3 separate regions of the Homo sapiens genome follow, and all the other regions are linked to region 3. The links are contacts of gene promoters, found by promoter capture Hi-C in blood cells and fetal thymus (Javierre and others, 2016). All regions are on one chromosome and are shown on one strand. Each heading gives the region's core, a stretch centred on a gene start or on the middle of the fragment in contact. The rest is flanking DNA. Distances are from core to core; before and after follow the strand shown.

Region 1 (3,368 bases), core at 331-2,830, 290 kb after region 3:
TAGAACATTTTCGTTACCCCAAAAGAAACTTGTGCTTTTACCACTTACTCCCATTTCCCCCATCCCCATCCCAACCCCAGTACCATCAATTTCCTTTCCGTAGGCAATCACTACTCTACTTATGTCTGTATGGATTTACTTATTCTTGACATTTCATGTAATTGGAATCATACTACATGTGGCCTATGTGACTGGCTTTTCACACAGCATAATGCTTCCAAAGTTTACACATGTTGTAGCATGTATCAATACTTCATTCCTTTTACGTCCAAGTAGCATTGCATTGTACAGATATGCCACATTTTGTTTATTTATTCAACAGTTGATAGACATTTGGGTTGTTTCCACTTTTGGGGTACTATAAACAATGCTGCTATGAATTCTTGTCTTCATTTTATCTTTCTTTCTCCTAAATCATTAATCTCTGCCTTTCCATGGATCTTTCAAAATATGAATATGCTCTAATATATTTCAGGTTAATAATAAACTGACCCTCTTGACACCACATGTCACTTTAGCTAAAACTCCATTTTACAAATCTATGTCAAAGTCTTTTTTTTTTGGCAGGATCTTGCTCTGTTGCCTAGGCTGGAGTGCACCATTCTGACTCACTGCAGCCTCAAACTCCTGGGGTTGTGCTGCCCTTCCTGCTTCAGCCTCTTGAGTAGCTAGGACTATAGGTGCATACCACCATGCCTACTAACTTTTAAAAATTTTTGTAGAGACAGGGTATCTCTCAGGGTTGCCCAGGCTGATCTTGAACTCCTGGCCTCAAGCCATCCTCCTGTCTTGGTCTCCCAAAGTGCTGGGATTACAGGCGTGAGCTACTGTGCCAAGCCCAAGAAATTTTTATTAGTGATGGATTGGAGTGGGAGAAAGAGTGAATGGAAGGTGAGGAAACCAAGATAACACGAGCAGATGACTCAAGAATTATGACTTTGGGCGGGCGTGGTGGCTCGTGCCTGTAATCCAAGTACTTTGGGAGGCCGAGAGGAAATGACTGCTTGAGCCCAGGAGTTTGAGACCAGCTTGGGCAACATAGGCTGTTGTTTTTCTCTACAAAAAATAAAAAAATTAGCCAATTAGCCGGGTGTGGTGGCATGCGCCTGTAGCCCCAGCTACTTAGGAGGCAGAGGCAAGGGGATTGCTTGAGCCTGCAAGTTCAGGGTTACAGTGAACCATGACTGGGTCAGTGTACTCCAGCCTGGGAGACAGAGAGAGACCCTGTCTCTAAAAACAAAACAAAACAAAACAAAGAAACCCGAAACTATTATTATCAAGCCTATTAATTATTTCCACATGCCAGGTCCAGTGAATATTCCCTGTTCTCATCTTATCTGACTTTTCAACAGCTTCAGAAATAGTTGGCTACTATTTCTTCTTGAAAAATTCTCTCATCTAGGCTGTCCTAACATAACAGTCTTCTTGTTTCTATAACATTCCCGTGGCTGTTACTTCTTAGAAACTTCTTTTTTTAGATCTTTCTCATCTACTCGACCTTTAAATTTTGTTTCTTTGGGTTTAGTCTTGGGTCTTTCTCTGTCTAAATTCTCTCATTAAATAACCTCATCTTTTTTTTTTTAATATAGACTTTATTTTTTAGAGCAGTTTTAGCTTCATAGAAAAGTTGAGGAAAGTACAGAGATTTTCCACATACCCTTTGTCCTCACACATGACTAGCCTTCCTCATTATCAGTATCCCCCACCAGAGTGGACATTTATTACAATTGATGAACCTACATTGACACATAATTTTCACCAAATCCCATCCATTTTCATGGTTTAAAATGCCATGTATATGCAAATTATTCACACATTTATATCTTTAGTGCAGATCCTTCCTTTGAGTTTCAAATTTGTATACCCAGTTGTGTACTTGATCCTCCTCCTCAGCATATCTTCTGGACATATAAAACTTAACATGTCCAAAATGACACTTACGGTACTCCCCAAGTCTCTTGTCTTACTCTGCCCATCTTCTTCATCATCTCAGTGAATGGCACCATTAGCTTCTTGATTGCTCAACCAAAAACCTAGGATTTATTCTATTTCTTCTCTGTCTCCTCCTTTTCTTTTCTCATTTCTAACTTTGTATAATGGAGAATTTTGAATATACACAAAAGTTGGCAGAACAGTATAAGATACCCCCATGTATACATCATTCATCCCAACAACTATCAACCCACAGCCAATCCTTCCCCATCCACATCCTTTTCTACTTTCTGCTTCCTTCTCCTGTGTGTCATTTTGAAGCAAATCCCAAACATCATGTCATTTCATCTCCATCTGTATCTCTCTATAACATATATATGACTTTCTTTTCTTTTCTTTTTTTTTGAGGCAGAGTCCCGCTCTTTTGCTAGGCTGGAGTGCAGTGGGGCGATCTCGGCTCACTGCAACCTCCGCCTCCTGGGTTCAAGCAATTCTCCTGCCTCAGCCTCCTGAGTAGCTGGGACTACAGGCACGCACCACCACACCCAGCTAATTTTTGTATTTTTAGTAGAGACAGGGTTTCACCATGTTGACCAGGATGGTCTCGATCTCTTGACCTCGTGATCTGCCTGCCTTGGCCTCCAAAAGTGCTGGGATTACAGGTGTGAGCCACCGCGCCCGGCCAATATATATATAACTTTCAAGTTACTCACAAGTCCTGTCAGCTCTATTTCCCAGTTCATTAATTTCATGCATTTCTTTCATCTCCACTGGCATAACCCTAGACCAGATCATGACCCTCCGCTGCCTGGCCCACTGCAAGGGCCTCATTAACTGTCTCTCCACTTTCACCCACTGCTTAAAACCTTTTAGTGGATTCCCATTATCTTTGGTACAAAATCTGAACTCCTTACTGTAGCCCATAAGGCCCTGTGTGATCTGGCCCCTGTCCACCTCTCATGCTACCCTCCCTTAACCCTGTGTTTTAGCTATACAATCTTCTTTCAGTTCCTCATACTCTCACTCCTTTTAGCTTCAGTGCTGTTGAGCTTGTCTTCCTCTTCCTGATATGCTTGCTTTCTTTTCAGCAGTCCCTCCTCCCTCCTGCCTAGTTAATTTTTTAACTCATTGTTTGGTTCTTGTATCAAGCATCCCTTCCCTTATTCATTTTGGTCAACAGCCCTTAGGCCAGTTTGTGATACTGTTCATGACTGTTATTATGGTATTAGTGTCTGCCCATGAGCTCCATAACAGTAAGGATTGTGTCCTTTTCCCTTATCACCACGTGTTTAGCATCTAGCATGTGCCTGGCAAGTAGTAGACACTAAAAATGTGTATGTCAAATAGATGATGAATACCTTTATCACATTTAAGCTTTTAAATTTTTCTATATTTTAATTTAATTTTATAGATGGTGTATCACTCTGTTGTGTAGG
Region 2 (3,733 bases), core at 328-2,827, 350 kb before region 3:
TAGCCCCAGAACTGGGAGATGGCTTCCTAAGTTGGCTATACCTTGTCCACTTCCAGTACTGGACGTGCTCAGGGTCTAGGGTCACAGATGGTGCTATTAATTGAACTGGAACACAGCAGAATTGTTGCAAAGGTTCTAGGAGCCAGATTCATTCCTTCTTCATTCTTTGCAAAACAGTGGTACAGACATGGAGTCTAGAATTGACCCAGATGGAAAGTAATTGGTATTCTTAATATCCTGGGTGACTAATATCCAGGCAGAGAAGCTCCTGGAACCATAACTGTAAGTTCCTAGCTGGCTAGGGATTGAAGTCCTGGACAGTGACAGAGGATACCACAGTAGTTCAAGACTTAGCACAAGTCACCAACTGCTTCAGGGATACCTGGAGGGGCCAGCAAGTAGAGTGTTGGTGGCCCAAGCAAACCAGTGTTGCCAATACCATTGCCAAAAGGGCCTTTGGATCCTGGACAAAGCTTGGCTGCCGGCTTCATTTATTCCTGCTGATGGCTGAGAAGCATCTGTCTTCCATCCCACTTGCCTGTCCCAAGTTTTGTTCCATTTTTTAAAAATTTGTTGTAAACTGCATGTTTTATAAAATAAAAATAAAATATCGTTTGTTATTTATCTCATTAGAGAACTGCTAGTGTGGGTTCTCTGGCTTCAGTCTTCCTCTCCTTCCTTTGAAGGTAAAGGTCCGGAATCCAAAGTTATGGATATGAAAGGGTATAATTAGGCCGGGCGCGGTGGCTCACTTCTGTAATCCTAGCACTTTGGGAGGCAGAGGTGGGTGGAACACGAGGTCAGGAGTTAAAGACCAGCCTGACCAAGATGGTGAAACCCCGTCTCTACTAAAAATACAAAAATTAGCTGGGAGTGGTGGATGGCGACTGTAACCCTAGCTGAGGCAGAAAATTGCTTCAACCCGGGAGGCGGAGGTTGCAGTGAGCCGAGATCACGCCACTGTATGCCAGCCTGGGCGATAGGGCGAGACTCCGTCTCAAAAAAAGGGGAAAAAGGTATAATTTATGCCTTTTCTGGGCAATGCTGGGTCTTTGCTATAGCTGCCCAGTACCCTAAGTCAGACTGAAGATGTACAGTATGGTTTCCGTTAATTGTGTAAGCCGACAAACTACAGGTCCCAGGATAGCTTGAGACTTGTAGTTGCTCACAAAGATGGGTCCGGTGCTGCGGTGCTTCCTGGGAGATGTAGTTTCCTGTGTATTGAAACCTGGACTGCTCGCTGGCCGGCAGCGCACCGTTTTGAAGGTCCTAGCCCACCTGGGCTGGCTCACGCGCACGACTAGCCGCTCCCATACAGCACGCCCGGACTCTGTCGTCGCTTAAGGCCACTCCTATTCTACGGCTGACCCCTGGTGGTCACGTGGATCTGTTCGCCACGCAAGTCTGGGTCCTTCGGCGATTGACCGGGGTCCTTGCTGTTCGGGAGCCTCTCCTAAGCTGCCTGTTCGCGCGAGAGTTTGGAGGGGCGGGTTTGGGGTCGGTGTCTGATTGGGGCTCGCACCGCAGCACGCTGGAGTCCCGCTTAGGTACCAGTTAGCGTCAGGGGAGCTGGGTCAGGCGGTCGCCGGGACACCCCGTGTGTGGCAGGCGGCGAAGCGCTCTGGAGAATCCCGGACAGCCCTGCTCCCTGCAGCCAGGTGTAGTTTCGGGAGCCACTGGGGCCAAAGTGAGAGTCCAGCGGTCTTCCAGCGCTTGGGCCACGGCGGCGGCCCTGGGAGCAGAGGTGGGACGGATGCGGGCGGCGAGGCGCTGGGCGCTGAGGGTTGGGGATGGACTGAAGCGAAAGCAATGGCGGAGTCCTTAGAAAGGGGGCTGGTGTCCGTACGGGTAATCACTTACGGGCTGGAGGTGGGGACGCAGGAATCTTCGGTGCAGGATCCAAATGGGCCCTAGTTATTGCTCTCCTCGCTGGCCTCCTGGCCTGACTGAGGGCTCCCTGCCGGCAGTTCCCTAGTGCCTGTAGTCCTCACGTAATCGCCAACTTACCTCCTGTAGCTGCCACAAAGCCCCGTGAACCCTAGGCATGCAGTGCTAAAGTACCAACACTTAGGGCCTCACCTATCCACGTAGAGTCTGGGGCTGAGCCGCAAGTCCTGAGCTCGCGCTCCCACCCACCACCCTGGGGGAATCAGAGCCCTCAAGCGCTGGAACAGAGAAGCCCCTTTGTGTCCCGGCCATTTCCTGGAAAGTAGAGCCAGAGTCACAATGAGGCCTTTGAAAGCCTTGGGGTGAGGATTGGGGGGGTCAGGGAAAAATGGAGTCGGCTCCTCACACTTATGTTTTATTCCCACTCAAACCCAGGTGGAGCGACCCCATTACGCTAAAGATGAAAGGCTGGGGTTGGCTGGCCCTGCTTCTGGGGGCCCTGCTGGGAACCGCCTGGGCTCGGAGGAGCCAGGATCTCCACTGTGGAGGTAAAGGCACAACGGGAAAAAGAAGTGGAGGAAGCAGAGCCTTGGGAGGGCATGAGATCCAAGGCCTGGGAGAAGGATGAATGGAAATCCTGGGTTGATCCCATTCTCCTCACACCCTACCCCCTACCCTGTCCCCTGCTCTCATTCTCTCCTCTTCCACCAGCATGCAGGGCTCTGGTGGATGAACTAGAATGGGAAATTGCCCAGGTGGACCCCAAGAAGACCATTCAGATGGGATCTTTCCGGATCAATCCAGATGGCAGCCAGTCAGTGGTGGAGGTAACTGTTACTGTTCCCCCAAACAAAGTAGCTCACTCTGGCTTTGGATGAAATTCGACTGCTTAAAAAGGACCTTGGTTTAATAGAAATGAAGAAAACAGACTCAGAAAAAAGATTTGGCTCTGTCTCATTTGGAAGAAGCTGCAGGCTTATTCCCCATGCACTTGCTTCCTGGCTGCAAACCTTAATACTTTGTTTCTGCTGTAGAATTTGTTAGCAAACAGGGAGTCCTGATCAGCACCCTTCTCCACATCCACATGACTGGTTTTTAATGTAGCACTGTGGTATACATGCAAACATCCGTTCAAAATCTGAGTCGGAGCTAAAAATAAAAAATGAAAAAACAGAAATAAGAATAAAAGGTCTTATCCTCATAATTAGGAAATTTTAATCGAAAACAACACACATGTACACAAAGGTGTATCTAATAAGCAATATATAAGGCAGTGTTAAGATTACAGTGCTAGCCTGGGCATCATGGCAAAACACCAACTCTACAAAAAAATGCAAAAGTTAGCAGTGCATGGTGGCATGTGCCTGTAGTGACAGCTGCTTGGAAGGCTGAGGTGGGAGGATCACTTGAGCCCAGGAGGTCGAGGCTGCAGTAAGCCGTGATTGTGCCACTGCACTCCAGCCTGGGAAACACAGCAAGACCCTGTCTCAAAAAAAAACCAAAACCCAGCACTTTGGGAGGCCAAGGCAGGCGGATCACCTGAGGTTAGAAGTTCGAGACCAGCCTGGCCAACATGGTGAAACTCCGTCTCTACTAAAAATACAAAAAAGTAGCCAGGCGTGGTGGCTCATGCCTATAGTCCCAGCTACTCAGGAGGCTGAGGCAGGAGAATCACTTGAACCCAGGAGGCAGAGGTTGCAGTGAGCCAAGATCGCACCACTGCACTCCAGTCTGGTTGACAAGAACAAAACTCTGTCTTGAAAAAAAAAAAAGGCCGGGCGCGGTGGCTCACGCCCGTAATGCCAGCACTTTGGGAGGCTGAGGTGGGCAGATCACAAGGTCAGGA
Region 3 (3,455 bases), core at 943-3,442:
GAATTGCCTGCCACCAGTCCCCCAAGACATGCCCATGATGAGAGGAGCTGATGAGAAGCATTACCTTGATGAGGGGAAGAGGAATGCCAGTGAGAGCAGAGGCATCCATGAATTTCTTGAGATCTTGGTGCAGAAATTCAAAAACCAGGTAGAGTTTATTTTCTGTGTGAATGACATCCAGCAGCCTAGAGAAGGAAAGTTTGAGGAAATGGAGGTGTGTGAGAGAGAGAAATGCCCACACTGTACAGACAGAACTTATCCTCCTTTCCAGCTGGATCACCTCTCAGACGCATACTTACTTGACAATATTAGGATGGTTAAGCTCCTTAAGCAGAGAGATCTCTCGGATGGCAGTACTGGGCACACCCTCAGTCTCACTTGGAGAGGTTGGGAAAGCAGAGATGGGAATATGGTTACAAATATTCCTTTCCCCCCCACCTAGTCATTTCTTTCCCCCAAGGAGACACCACCCAGCACCCCCTAGGAAAGTGAGAGAAGAGAAAGGGTGATGGTAAGAGCTAATTCTTGGGTAGTCAGGGTGTGGTTTTTGGATATATTAAGGCCATTATCTCCTCTTTTCCCAGGGGTAGGTAAGTAAAGCCGCCTGGTGAAGGTGAAGCAGGGAGACTGTAATGGAGGGGAAAAAATGCAGGAGTAGCCCCCAGCCTCCCCAGAGGGGCCAGTGAGGTTCAACTGCCATTCTTTGGAAAGAGGAGAGAATTCTAAGGTGAGGGTGGGGCAGTGAAGAGGGCTCTTCATTCAGAAAGGCGATTCTCGCCGGTTCCCACATAACTCCACTCCATGGAGAGTCTTGGACCTCATCTCAGAGACCTCCTTTCTCTCCCCGAGTCTGTAGTCGCACATTTGGGGGCACGATCCGGCTCAGTTTGGGAAGAAAGTTTTCCATGGATTCCACACCACCCTATACTCTCCCCAGGGAGTATAAGTATACTCTTCACCTTCTACTGGCCCCCAACCCACCTCTCCACTTCTAAAGAAGTCCCTCCCTGCTCTCTTCCGGTCCCTGGACGGCTACCCGCCCGTGGGGGGTTGGGGGGGACAATCAAGGAGGTCCCCAGTTAGGAGTCCCGGGTACAGAGGCCACTCACGTGTCCAGGCGGATTTTCTTAAGCGCCACCACCTCTCCCGTCAACTTGTTTCTGGCTTTGTACACAACTCCGTACGTGCCCTCTCCGATCTTTTCCACCTTTTGGAAGTTCTCCATGAAGCGCCAGCGAGTCGGGTCAGCCCGGCCCTGGAGCGGGGGCCTGGGAACCCTGCAGAAGGCGGACCCTGGCTCTCGGGGGCCGAGGAGGGGGAAACAGGGCCCAGTACCGTGGCCCCGGGTCGGGATGGAACGCAGTATACCTCTCGCTCTTGTCAATTTGGCCAACTTGAAACAATGTTGCCGCCTCCCACCGAGTTCCCGACCGCCACCAGAGGCCCCGCCCCTGCTTCCCGCGTTTCCCTGGCTCCGCCCCCAGGCCTTTCTATTGGTCAACGTCAGAGCCGGGGGGCGAGCCCAGCGCTCCTCCCCGCAAATGATCCCGCCCCAGGCAAGTTTGGTTCTTGGGGGCTAGACAAGTTTCTTCCCCGGTGGGGCGGCTGAACACTCTTCCCAAGTACCTGCTTTGGGTCCAAGTTTCCTACCTATGTCTCTAGTCTGTAGGGATTTCTTGATTTCTAACTCACTATTTTCACCAATCCTGGGGAAAATATGTATCGACCTAAGGTTAAATTCCACCTGGCCCAGGAGCCTCCTTTGGAAACCAGGAAGCCGGGAATCTCGTTGCAAAGGAATCCTGGGCCTCAGAGGAGTCGTTGCCTCTGCCTCATAGCATACCCCGACACTGTCTCTGTTTTGGGATGCAGGGTTCTGTTTCTGTCTTTTTGAGAAGTTCCTGGTTTAATTCACTCTCCCATGATAAACTGTTGTGTCTGGTATGTGTTACGCAGCTGCCTTTCAGTTAGCTCTTGCCCGGGAGTGCATCAAGATGAGAGTGACCCAGTGAAACCAGAAACTGTCATTGAGTAGCAGGATGGGAAAGCAATGTCTAGGGACCAGGATCCCTTTGTCAGTTTTTCCTTTTTCCTCTCCTCCGGCCCCTCCCAGGCCTTCTCTGAGGGAGAAGAGGAAGGGCTATGCAAATGAGCACCCTTTTCTTATATAGGGGCCTATCCCAGTCCCCCCAGTGCCTTTGGTTGCTGGAGGGAAGAACACAATGGATCTGGTGCTAAAAAGATGCCTTCTTCATTTGGCTGTGATAGGTGCTTTGCTGGCTGTGGGGGCTACAAAAGGTATGTGTGGATATGTGGACATGAGCAGGTGTGAACTTGGGGATGAATTCCCCCTGCTCTGGTTTCTGTCCTCCTAATGGGAGATAGCGGCAATATTTCAGGCGTCTCCCACTCATTTGATTTAGTGAGGATGTGGGCACCTGGGCTCCCTCCCTACATGGAGATTTGGGATTTTGCCTGAAAATAATCTCATATGCTTGGAGGGGCAGAAGGATAGAAGGTCTCTGTGGCACTGATTCTGAGGCTTCCTTGGCAGTGAGCTGGAGCACGGGCTCCAAAGGGGTGAAATGTGCAGGAGACTCTTTTAGGAAACGTCTCTTGGGGTAGGAGATTTAAAGTGGGGAGTCAGAGAATGTGGTATTGGGTAAGAACACTAAGGAGATACAATCCTCTCCTCTTGGGATGGGTACGGGTGAACACAGCCCAGACCTTTTGTTCTGGGGCTGGAGAGATAGGCAGAGGGGTCTCAGCTGAGCATCACATGAAAGGGCTCTGGGGGATTGGGCCTCGTGACAGGAGCAAGGGGCGGGGGTGGGGTGGTGAGAGGGTCTGGAATGTCCCGTGCTGCTCTGAGGAGAGTTGGAAGTGGAGAAAGAATGGGGTATCTTATGACTTCTCTTGTTCTAGTGGTGGGATGCTCAATAGATGATTCCAGATCCTCCCCCAGCAGAATCAACTAGGGTTACAGCACACATTAGAAAGGGAATGAGGCCGGGCGCCGTGGCTCACGCCTGTAATCCCAGCACTTTGGGAGGCTGAAGCAGGTGGATCACGAGGTCAGGAGTTCGAGACCAGCCTGGCCAATATGGTGAAACCCCCGTCTCTACTAAAAGTACAAAAATTAGCTGGGCATGGTGGCACATGCCTGTAGTCCCAGCTACTCAGAAGGCTGAGGCTGGAGAATCACTTGAACCCAGAAGGCAGAGGTTGCAGTGAGCCAAGATCACACCAATGCACTCCAGCCTGGGTGACAGAGCGAGTCTCCGTCTCAAAAAAAAAAAAAAAAAGAAAGGGGATGAGGCCCGGCACAGTAACTCATGCCTGTAATCCTAGCACTTTGAGAGGCTGAGACGGGTGGATCACTTGAGGTCAGACCAGCCTGGCCAATATGGTGAAACTCCATCTCTACTAAAAATACAAAAATTAGCTGGGCATGG

The links. The method cuts DNA at HindIII sites, captures the fragments that hold promoters and counts their contacts. A CHiCAGO score of 5 or more calls a contact.
Region 1: a fragment that was not itself captured here is called in contact with the fragment with the promoter of PMEL in region 3 in 1 of 17 cell types (M2 macrophages); the score reaches 5.4 in M2 macrophages.
Region 2: a contact is called between the fragment with the promoter of CNPY2 here and the fragment with the promoter of PMEL in region 3, in 4 of 17 cell types (fetal thymus, naive CD8 T cells, non-activated CD4 T cells and 1 more). The highest score is 5.8, in fetal thymus.

What each region holds. Positions count from the first base shown.
Region 1 is chr12:55,673,431-55,676,798 of GRCh38, reverse strand. No RefSeq gene overlaps it. Among named protein-coding and RNA genes, the nearest start is that of TMT1B, 6.6 kb to the left of the region's middle. RefSeq lists an enhancer at 3,042-3,181. The HindIII fragment of the contact is 3,457 bases long and covers 1-3,308 here.
Region 2 is chr12:56,313,832-56,317,564 of GRCh38, reverse strand. It overlaps CNPY2 (canopy FGF signaling regulator 2), which reads left to right and starts at 1,577. Exons shown (of 6, transcript NM_014255.7): 1 at 1,577-1,744; 2 at 2,323-2,435; 3 at 2,599-2,714. The coding sequence starts at 2,348. PAN2 (poly(A) specific ribonuclease subunit PAN2) reads left to right here. Exons shown (of 26, transcript NM_014871.6): 26 at 1-629. It overlaps CNPY2-AS1 (CNPY2 antisense RNA 1), which reads right to left. Exons shown (of 2, transcript XR_002957416.2): 2 at 2,757-3,036. RefSeq lists enhancers at 1,224-1,373, 1,454-1,503, 1,004-1,592. The HindIII fragment of the contact is 5,570 bases long and covers 476-3,733 here.
Region 3 is chr12:55,964,779-55,968,233 of GRCh38, reverse strand. PMEL (premelanosome protein) reads left to right here and starts at 2,192. Exons shown (of 11, transcript NM_001384361.1): 1 at 2,192-2,298. The coding sequence starts at 2,223. CDK2 (cyclin dependent kinase 2) reads right to left here and starts at 1,404. Exons shown (of 7, transcript NM_001798.5): 1 at 1,110-1,404; 2 at 300-377; 3 at 65-185. The coding sequence starts at 1,225. RefSeq lists an enhancer at 1,634-1,713. The HindIII fragment of the contact is 16,386 bases long and covers 1-3,455 here.